Regions from separate parts of the Homo sapiens genome. Here regions 1 and 2 are each linked to region 3. The links are contacts of gene promoters, found by promoter capture Hi-C in human tissues and cell types (Jung and others, 2019). All regions are on one chromosome and are shown on one strand. The core of a region is centred on a gene start or on the middle of the fragment in contact, and the rest is flanking DNA. Distances in the headings are between cores, read along the strand shown. Region 1 overlaps EFL1 (elongation factor like GTPase 1). Region 2 has its middle 12 kb from the start of LINC01583. Region 3 holds the start of STARD5 (StAR related lipid transfer domain containing 5).

Region 1 (3,417 bases), core at 801-3,300, 850 kb before region 3:
TGAGGTACTGGGTCTGGAGACCTGACTGCTTCCATATCTCCCTGAAGGCTTTTCTCATTACCTGAGTATACTAGGAAGTATTGCCACCTCTTCTGCTACCTAAGCCAAATCCAATGAGCCATTCTTTTTTTTATTTATTTAATTTGTTAGAGAGAGGGTCTCACTCTGTTGCCCTGGCTAGATTGCGGTGGCACGATCATAGTTTACTGTAACCTCGAACTTCTGGGCTCAAGTAATCCTCCTGCCTCAGTCTCCTAAGTAGCTGGGACTACAGGCGTGTGCCACCATGCCTGGGTAATTTTTATTTTTTTATTTTTTATTTGTTTTGAGACAGAGTCTTGCTATGTTTCCCAGGCTGGTCTTGAACTCCTGGGCCTCCTTCCTCAGCCTCCCAAAATTCTGGGATTATAGGTGTGAGCCACCATGCTAAGCCCATTTTCTTTATGGAGAATAGTAATGCAAACAGTTAAGTACCAAGGATTAGCTTCAGTATAGACTGTGTTATTTTCTAGGGTTCAGAGGAGGGGCATGTCCAGAGAATTGGTAGAATGAGCTCTTGAAAGTGATTGGGATACCTCCTGGAATGAAATTCCTCCTAAGGGAGAAGAAACCAGGCATGACAGGGTAATCCAGTAGTCAAGCCTTAGTCTCAAGAGGGAGGAATGATGTGCTGCCTGTCACTTGATTTGCCTTTTGGCCCAGCCCTATTGCTCCGCTGATTGAGACCTTTGGAAGGCAAGAGTAAAACCTGAAGAACTGACCTCTGTAAGACATTGGGTCACCACAATGCCTTTTTCCCTCTAAGAGAGTGAAGCACAAGGAAGGAGCATTTCCACTACTCCAGAAACTACTGCAGAGTTTGGGCACCCTGACAACCCTAGTGTTCATGTATCTATGGCAAGTGTGAGCTCGTGGGCCCATGAGGAATTTCCACTAGGATGCCCAGATTAGTTGATAGACACATTCCAAATAAGGCCCCGTATGAACTGGTGTGGACAGAGAGCCAGTGTGATTTGGTGGTTATTATTAATCAGACTTCACTGGTAGTCATAGGCTGGGAAGCCTTGAAAAAATTGTTTACATTAGTCTGTCTTGTGAAAGCTTCTTCAAAGATGCTCTGTCAGCATGTTAGCTTTGTATTACAGTGGAATTCTTTAGTTTGTTGCTGATAAATCTAAAGAATGCTTATTGAGAAAAGACACCTGAGTATCCCTGATAGAGTAAAGGGGCTTCCCCTGAAAATCCCTTATGACTCTTCTATTTGGGGCCAATTAAAAATGACAATCTTACCTCACAGTATTTTTGGGGTCTTTATTCAGAGAGTCACATATGCAAGACCATCACATTCCATACTATGGAAATCATCAACTTGAAATAACTTTCACATTATTTTCCTAACCTACATTTTGCAGCACTTTCTCTCTGGTTTTCTCAGAGCCAAAGAAATATTTCCCATGATGTGAGCTGAGATTATTTTACTCTGCTAGTGGTTAGATTTTGGCAGTGGTAGATGGTAAAAGTGGAAGGAGACACTTGAAAATTCTTTGGGTAGTGTGTTGGATGTTTTTTAATAAATAAATAAAGGCAGCAGTAGAGAAGCATGTGGTGCTGGGACTTGTTTTGCTTTCCCAAAAAATGAAGCAGACCAAAATCAAGGAACAGTTTTCTGAGCCTTTTTGAGCGTCTTCCAATGGGTATTTAAAAGACCAAAAACTTCATGTGAACCACAATGTCAGGAGCCAGAGGGTAGACAGAAGTATGCAGCCAGGAGGAGGCTGTTTACACGCACTTGAATAAGGAAGTGATTTGGTTGAGGACAGACCTGGCCAGGAGAATCAGTGTAAAGACTTCGCAATGAAAGCCACATTTTATTAGTCATTAGAGGATGTGGAGAAAAAAGATACAAGGAGATGAACCATGTGCTCTCCCCTTTGCTGCCAGTTCTTTTTTAAAGGTTCTGAAATGGTTTATTTTTATTAGTTGCAGTTATTAGCATCTCTAAAAGACTCAGAAACACTTAAAATACCCATGTAATTTGTGTCAAATAACATTTTAAGTATACTTATTGATGCATAAGATGCACATAGAAAAGTATGCAAATCTTAAATGCACAGCTTGATGAATTTTCATAAACTGAACATATGCCAGTGTAACTAGTACCCAGACCCAGAAACAGAACCTTACAAACATCCCAGAAGCCAAGCTCCTTTCGAATTACTGCCACCGCACCCCTTCACCCTATTAGATTTACCTGATTTTAAGCTTTATATATAGAATGTGCTCTTGCATTGGGCATTTTTCATTTAGCATTCTGTTTATGAGGTTCATCCATGTCATGGCACATGGTTGTGATTTGCTCATTCATGTTACTGTGTTGTGTGACTACCAGTTTATTTATCCACTCTTCTGTTGGTGGATATTTAAGTAATTTCCAGTATTTGACTATTATGAATATTGTCACTTTGAATATTCTTATACATGTCTTTTGGTTAATGTGTCTGCTTTCTGATGGAAGAGAAATTATTGGGTCATAGAGTAGGCATATGCTCAAGCTTAGTCAATGTACCACTTTATGCTTCCACCAGGGGTATCTGAAAGTTCCAGTTGCTCTGTATCTTTGTCCATACTTGTTTTTGCTTTCATTCGAGTCATTTTTGTGTGTATGGGGTAGTATATTACGTAGATTTTGCTGGTGACTAGAGAAGTGAAAGGTCCTTTTCATTTATATATTGACCATTGTTGTTTACTGATTTGTGGGATGCCTGTTAAGTCTTTACCCACTTATAGATTCTCTGCCTTTTTTGTATTGATTTATAGGCATTCTTTATATATTCTGCATAAAAGTCCCTGGATGGGTATATGTATTGCAAATATTTTCTCCTTTGCGAGTTATCTTTCTGCCATCTAATGATGTCTCTTGATAAACGGAAGTTCTTAGTTTTAATATAATCTAATATTTTTCAATTTTTTCTTTTACGACTAACGCTTTTTGTGTCTTGTTTAAGAAATCTGCTTATTCCAAAGTCATGGTGATATTCTATGTTGTTATTCCATAAGCTTTTTTTTGTTTTACTTATTGTATTTAGATCTGCAATCCGTCTGACATTGGTTTTTGTAACAGAGGTCAGGTGGGAGTCAATGTCAATTATTTTTTTCAATCAGGTATCTGGTTGACTTAGAACCATTATCACATCCCCACTGTACTGCAGTGTCACCATTGCCAAATATCAGTTTGTGTAGTTTACATCTTCAATAATGGCAGCTCTTTAATTCAAAAATTATAGTAGCTTGTGTCTAATAACTTTTCCTGGTAAAAATTATAATTTTTTGGTTTTAAAAGATTACTTGTAATCTCAATACTAGCATTCCTACAGTTTGTATTTTAGTTATTATTATTCTATTTTTATATCATCCTAT
Region 2 (3,181 bases), core at 42-2,541, 750 kb before region 3:
GCCACCACACCCAGGCGTATTATATCAATAACAATTTCTTAGTTTTGACAAATGTACCATGATTGTGTAAGATGTTACTAGTAGGCAATGCTGGATAAAGGGTATACAAGAATCATATATGCCATCTTTGTAACTCTTCTGTAAATCTAAAATTATTCCAAAATTAAAAGTTTAAAATAATTTTTAAAAAGTCAATCACCAAAAAGTAAGTACATTTAGGACATAGATACATGCAAGACATGTGTAACATAACTGAAAATCACAGATTTTGGAGTCGGACGTACCTGGTTTCTCATCCTGGCTGCCCCAATTGCTAACTGCAATGTTGGGCAAATTTCTTTATTCCTTCAAGCTCTGTGTTCCAATCTCTAAAATAGGAATCCTAATTATATATACTTCAAGGGGTTCCTGGGAAGAGTAAATGAGAAAATACTGGCAAAGTGCCTTATCATAGTGCCTGATTGCCTGATACATAGTAAGAGCTCAATAAAAGTAGCTTTTATTATTCTTGCAGGTGATCAAAGAAATGCAGAGTCAAACAATGTTGGCAAATGATTTCACACCTACTGAATCGGCAACAACTGTGATCCCCAGTGCCTGACAGAGTGTGCTGAAACCGGTACATTCATAAACTGTAAACCAGTACAGCTATTTGGAAAAGCAACGTAGCAATATAGACACAGCAAGAGACTGCAGAAATGGTCACAACCTTTCGCCCAGACCTCCTCTTAATGATTTGCAGGGTTCCAGGCAAGGGTATAAATGGAGCCTCACATACCATATGTATAAGTAGTTTAAAGTTAGAAATCAGGTTACAAACTGTTAAATGAAAATATGTTCTAGCCTCCTGCCTTGGCAAATATACTGTCACCACCACCTGGAAGGGCTCAAGTTAAAAATTCTCAGATGCCTCTGCATCCTGTGTTGGAACATGACGGCATGGGGAGAGCCAGTTGCTAGCCCCCAGACCCACTGTCTTTCCAATTCCTAAGTCTGTCCAGCACTGAGGGGGCCTCATGTGAATGTGAGTGGACAGCCTAGCCCATGCGTCCAAACTCTGTTCACTACCCCCTGCCTGTGGCCACTCCTCAGATCCGGGTGTGTCTACTGGTGGTGTGATTGGATCTCAGGAGGAGAGACTCAGGGACCAGGGCTGGGCAGGCCCTGGAGATGAGCATGGGGCCAGTGGGCAGGGACTTCTGGGAGTCCTAGGCACCTGGAGAATGGTCTAAAAGGGAGGACGTGGATTTGCAATGGGCATGTTCCCTTGGCCTGCAGACTCCTCACCAGGTGGGAGGGACGCAGCCCAAGGAGGGCCAGGGGGACACCCCCTGCCTGATCTCACTGCAGTACTCCTTAGAGTCCATCCAAAGGAAAGAAATAGTTCAGCAGAATAAAAAGGCTACGGGCACAAAGATAGTATCACTGTGTTGCATTTGACACTAAAAAAACCCAATCTAATGTTCAACAGTAGGGAAATGTTAAGACAACAATGATAAAGCTATTCAGAGAAGTAGTATGCTACCACCAACACTGGCACATGTGACAACCATGTCATAACATGGGATAATGTTTATGTGTAGATATAATAGTAAATGAACTCTGGCAACTGTGCAAACATCTGTGCGCCCTAGGTGAGATGCGGAAGTCAACCTGCAGACATGAGAACAGCTGCCTCAAAGAGGGTTGAACTCTTTCAGGCAGCTGAAAGATTTTCCTCCCAAAATTGTCTCTTTCCTGTGGCTGGGGAGAAGCAGGGACTTTTCAGGAACTAATGGGTAAGAGCTGGCTGGTTAGACTGGAGTTTTTTGTGCAACTCTACTCAGGAGTTGGAGATAAGAACCTGCTACCTGCTGCATGGAAGCCAGAAAAGCACTTTAGCTAATCACACTCCCTCTCTGCGTGGGCTGAAGATATCCTTGAGTCCTCCCAGCCCTGAGCCCTTCTCCAGGGGCCAGCACACCCAGAAACCACGCGTGCAGTGTTTGCTCTGGATGCCCAGGATAGTCTCTGCTGCGCGTGTGAAGCTCTGCCATGGGCTGGGTATGGAACGGGCCATGTCACACTGAGTCCTCGCAACAACCTGGTGAGATGGGAGCCTCAGCATGGCTGACTTGGACACTGAGATGCTGGTCCAGCACCACGCAGTTGGCAAGCAGAGAAGCCAGCCTTTGAAACTCTGTGCTTCCATTTGGGCACGTACACTGGGAAATCAAAAGGCAGTGTTCCCTTTCTCCCCACAAACTGCTTCTAGTGTCCCATGGGGCCAGAGGAACTCAATCAAAACAATATTCCATAGATGTGGGATAGTGGTAGCACAAATAAATTAACAATTGCACTTCTGGGCACTCGACTGTCCCCACGGTTCTAAAAATGAAAAGACTCTGGTATTTAATTTATATTTTATAAGAGTGAAAAAGGCCAGGCACAGTAGCTCACACCTTTAATCCCATCATTTTGGAAGGCCAAGGTGGGAGGATTGCTTGAACTCAAGAGTTCAAGACCAGCCTGGGCAATATGGCAAAACTCTACAAAAAAATTAGCCGGGTGTGGTGGTGCATGCCTATAGTTCCAGCTACTCAGAGACTGAGGTGGGAGGATCACTTGAGCCTGGGAGGTCGAGACTGCAGTGCGCCAAGATAGCACCACTGTACTTCAGCCTGGGAAACAGTGAGATTCTGTCTCAAAAAAAAAAAAAAAAAAAAAAAAATTTGATAATTGCCTTTGGTAAGGAAGAGCTGATTTTAGCATGGAACAGAGGGTGGCAAACAACAGCCTTCAAGCCAAATCTATTCCACTGCTTGTTTTTATATGTCCCATGATCTAAATAATGGGTTTTACATTTTTAAATGGTTGGTGGGGGGAAATGTGAAACTTACATGAAATTCCAGTCTCCAGATCTATAAATAAAGTTTTATTGGAACACAGCCACATTCAGTTGTGCATATGTATTGTCTACGGCAGCTTCTGCACTATACCAGCAGAGTTGAGGAGTTGTAACAGGGAGATCATATGGCCTGAAAAGCTGAAAAATTTTACTATCTGGTCTTTTACAGAAAGACTTTGCTGACCCCTGAAATGGAAGAAGACTACAGGCCTAGTTATTTAGTGATAATTGAACCCAGCTTTCATTGTTTGAGTAGCTTCTGCATGTCGATTGTTAAGCTTTACTTACCTAGAT
Region 3 (3,322 bases), core at 238-2,737:
TGTTTGTTTATTTTTATTACTTTTTGAGACAGGATCTTGCTCTGCAGCCCAGGCTGGAGTGCAGTGGCGCGATCACGGTTCACTGCTGCCTCTGCCTCCCGGGTTGAAGCGATCCTCCCACCTCAGCCCCCCCAAGTAGCTGGGATTACAGCCCCGCGCCACCATGCCCGGCTAATTTTTGAATTTTTAGTAGAGACGGAGTCTCGCCATGCTGCTCAGGCTGGTCTCGAACTCCTAGGTTCAAGTGATCTCCTGCCTCAGCCTCCCAAAGTGCTGGGATTACAGGCGTGAGCCACCGGACCCCGCCAGGAACATTTATGATGTATCCCATTTCACCTTGGAGTAAACTGAAGCTCAAAGAATAATGAGTGAAACTGGGTTTAGATCTTGAGCTCCCTAATTCCCCATCCAGGTCTTCTTCACAGCCTGGCTGCCCTTCACATCTTCCAAAAAGGTCTTTCAAGTTGTCAATTTGTTTACACTACTCTTCCAAACATTTATATCGAAAGTTTAAAGGAAACAATAAGTACATAAAAAAGAAAGATAAGAAATAGACCTCAGTATTAACCTTTTCAAATATTTAGTTGGTGATAGCGCAGAAGAGGGGAAACCGAGGCTGTCCTTGCCATTCACGCTGTGAAGATGCGACCCTGGCTCACTCCCCGCAGCTCCAGGGCAGCTGGAAGCAGAGAACTCCCATATCTCTAATAAAGCCGGGCCTCTCGCAGATGTCAGCGCATTGCATTGACTCCTGGACACCTGCACTAAAGGCCCTTCAGGCACCTCCAACTAAATATGCCCAGAACTGAACTCACCCTATCTCTTCTCCATCTCAGGTAAGCTGCCAGGTGGCCAAGGCTGGGAGTCATGATGCTTTCTCCTTCTGAACATCCACAATCGGGGGCAGAGACCTTCACCTTCCATCTCCTAAACACTCTACGATGGGTCCTCTTCTCTTCACCCCCACTCCCCGCACCCCTGCCACACACCTCTCCCACCATTGCACGCGCCCAGTCTCCACGCGCATTTCCTCTCCCACCCTGCAGCAGCCGCCCTAGCATATTACCTCTAATGCAAATCGCACCACTGTCCCGCAGGCTGAAAGCCTCGGTGCACTCAGGACAAGAGTCCACGCTTCTTAAACAAACGGTCGACGTTGTCCGCGACCTGGCCCGGCCCAACGGGTCAGACCGTCATTGGCCATCTCACAGTCCCGGCGCTCCAGAGCCCCTCCCACAGCGGGACATGAAGGAGGCGGATACGGCTGGACCTTACCCGGCCCGCCCAAGGCGTCCGGGACCCGCCCAGGCGCTGACGCTAACTGGAGAGCCTGGCCCCGCGGTCTCCTTGTCCTGCCAATCTCCGGGAGGCGGGATCCGTCTGAGGGCCTGGACCAATTCGGGAGCGGGGGCGCGGAAAGAGGCGGGGCTACGAGCTCCTCCCAGAGCTCCAGCCTCCAGGCACCCGGGATCCAGCGCCGCCGCTCATAACACCCGCGACCCCGCAGCTAAGCGCAGCTCCCGACGCAATGGACCCGGCGCTGGCAGCCCAGATGAGCGAGGCTGTGGCCGAGAAGATGCTCCAGTACCGGCGGGACACAGCAGGCTGGAAGATTTGCCGGGAAGGCGTGAGTGAGGAGCTGGGCGGGAAGGGGTCGCGGAGACGGCTTCGTGGAGCCCGGGTCCCCAGAAGCCCCCAAGCGCCTCCTCTCCCCGTTGTTTTCTGCTCCCCAATCCCCTGGACCCGATTGAGAGGGATTCCAATGGGGATTGTTTTCTTCTTTAAAAAAAAGATTGGGCCTGTTATGCTCACAATGACTTCAGGTGGTAAGTATCTGTTCCTTTCACTCAGTGACTTGCCCAAGGTCACCTGGCTGTTGAATGCTGTTTAGGACTGGATGTTTCTGTGACAGTGGTAAAAGTAAATAAATTGCATTTAAGGGGTAAGCAGGTGTTTAAAAACAAAACAAAATGAAAGAATGTGGTCGCAGCTAAGGAGGTTTTTACATGTTGTTTAAATCCAGTAAAGTCTGATCCAGCATCTGATGCATACTAAGGTTTTCTTCTGTGTTCATTACAGCATGAACCCCTCTCTTTGTCGTTGCCAGAGGGTAGCATGGGAGTAGTTTTGCTTGACCCTTCTGACTTTTCATTACAGCATGAACCCCTCTCTTTGTCGTTGCCAGAGGGTAACATGGGAGTAGTTTTGCTTGACCCTTCTGACTTTTCATTACAGCATGAACCCCTCTCTTTGTCGTTGCCAGAGGGTAGCATGGGAGTAGTTTTGCTTGACCCTTCTGACTTTTCATTACAGCATGAACCCCTCTCTTTGTCGTTGCCAGAGGGTAGCATGGGAGTAGTTTTGCTTGACCCTTCTGACTTTTCATTAAGTAGCCCTGGGTTGCTCAAGGAAACAGAATGCCTGGTGGCTTTTAAGATAATTTTAAAAACCACCCACGGCTCTTGGAGTCAGCCAGTTAAGATCTTTTTCTTCATCACATTCTGCTGTGGGGACAGCTTTGCCCAAGACTAGTCCCAGCTTTTCCACGTATGGGTTGCACAGCCTTGGAGAGTCGTATCTCTTGAGGCCTCTTACCCCTCTTCTGTAGAACAGGGGATTAAGCCAGGTGACCAGAGCCCTTCTAGCTCTAAAATTCTGTGGTTCTGTGCCTTTTGACAGAATGGAGTTTCAGTTTCCTGGAGGCCATCTGTGGAGTTTCCAGGGAACCTGTAAGTGCATGCCTCGTTCAAAGATTACCAGAGGTGCCGCACCCTTCCTGGTATCTTTATGGGCCTGCCTCCTAAAATATTCAAATCAACCCTATAACCTGTGATCACTTGTCCTCCAGAAAAGCCTTACTGTTTTTAATGAAATCATTTCCAGCAAACTGTATTCTTGTGAAAGCTTACTGTCCATTTCTGCAGGCCTGAAGGGAGGCGGGGCTAGTGACTTTCAGCCCCTTCTCTGCAAGTCTGTCCTAAAGAGTAGTGACAGACATGGCATGGTCCACCTTCTAGTCCTTAGATACAATCTCAAGATAACAAGTTTGATTGATGCGTTGGGGTCAAATTCCTTTTCGTGCTCCAGGTACCGAGGAGAAGGCATTGTATATGGGACACTAGAGGAGGTGTGGGACTGTGTGAAGCCAGCTGTTGGAGGCCTACGAGTGAAGTGGGATGAGAATGTGACCGGTTTTGAAATTATCCAAAGCATCACTGACGTAAGTCTTTCCAAGCATGTTATCTCTAGATAGTGTCTGGGCCAGGCTATAGTAACCCCCTCCCATTTCTTCTGGAAGGGGTCCGTGATACCTTTTGTTAAG

The links. The method cuts DNA at HindIII sites, captures the fragments that hold promoters and counts their contacts. A contact is called where the count stands out against the background at its distance.
Region 1: a contact is called between a fragment that was not itself captured here and the fragment with the promoter of STARD5 in region 3, in 1 of the 25 tissues and cell types used here (dorsolateral prefrontal cortex).
Region 2: a contact is called between a fragment that was not itself captured here and the fragment with the promoter of STARD5 in region 3, in 1 of the 25 tissues and cell types used here (hippocampus).

What each region holds. Positions count from the first base shown.
Region 1 is chr15:82,175,876-82,179,292 of GRCh38, reverse strand. All of the region lies in intron 15 of EFL1 (elongation factor like GTPase 1), which reads left to right. Among named protein-coding and RNA genes, the nearest start is that of EFL1, 85 kb to the left of the region's middle. The HindIII fragment of the contact is 3,059 bases long and covers 521-3,417 here.
Region 2 is chr15:82,074,510-82,077,690 of GRCh38, reverse strand. No RefSeq gene overlaps it. Among named protein-coding and RNA genes, the nearest start is that of LINC01583, 12 kb to the left of the region's middle. The HindIII fragment of the contact is 5,623 bases long and covers 1-3,181 here.
Region 3 is chr15:81,322,306-81,325,627 of GRCh38, reverse strand. STARD5 (StAR related lipid transfer domain containing 5) reads left to right here and starts at 1,487. Exons shown (of 6, transcript NM_181900.3): 1 at 1,487-1,627; 2 at 2,680-2,729; 3 at 3,088-3,220. The coding sequence starts at 1,529. TMC3-AS1 (TMC3 antisense RNA 1) reads right to left here and starts at 1,295. Exons shown (of 7, transcript NR_120365.1): 1 at 1,067-1,295. RefSeq lists a silencer at 946-995. The HindIII fragment of the contact is 12,739 bases long and covers 1-3,322 here.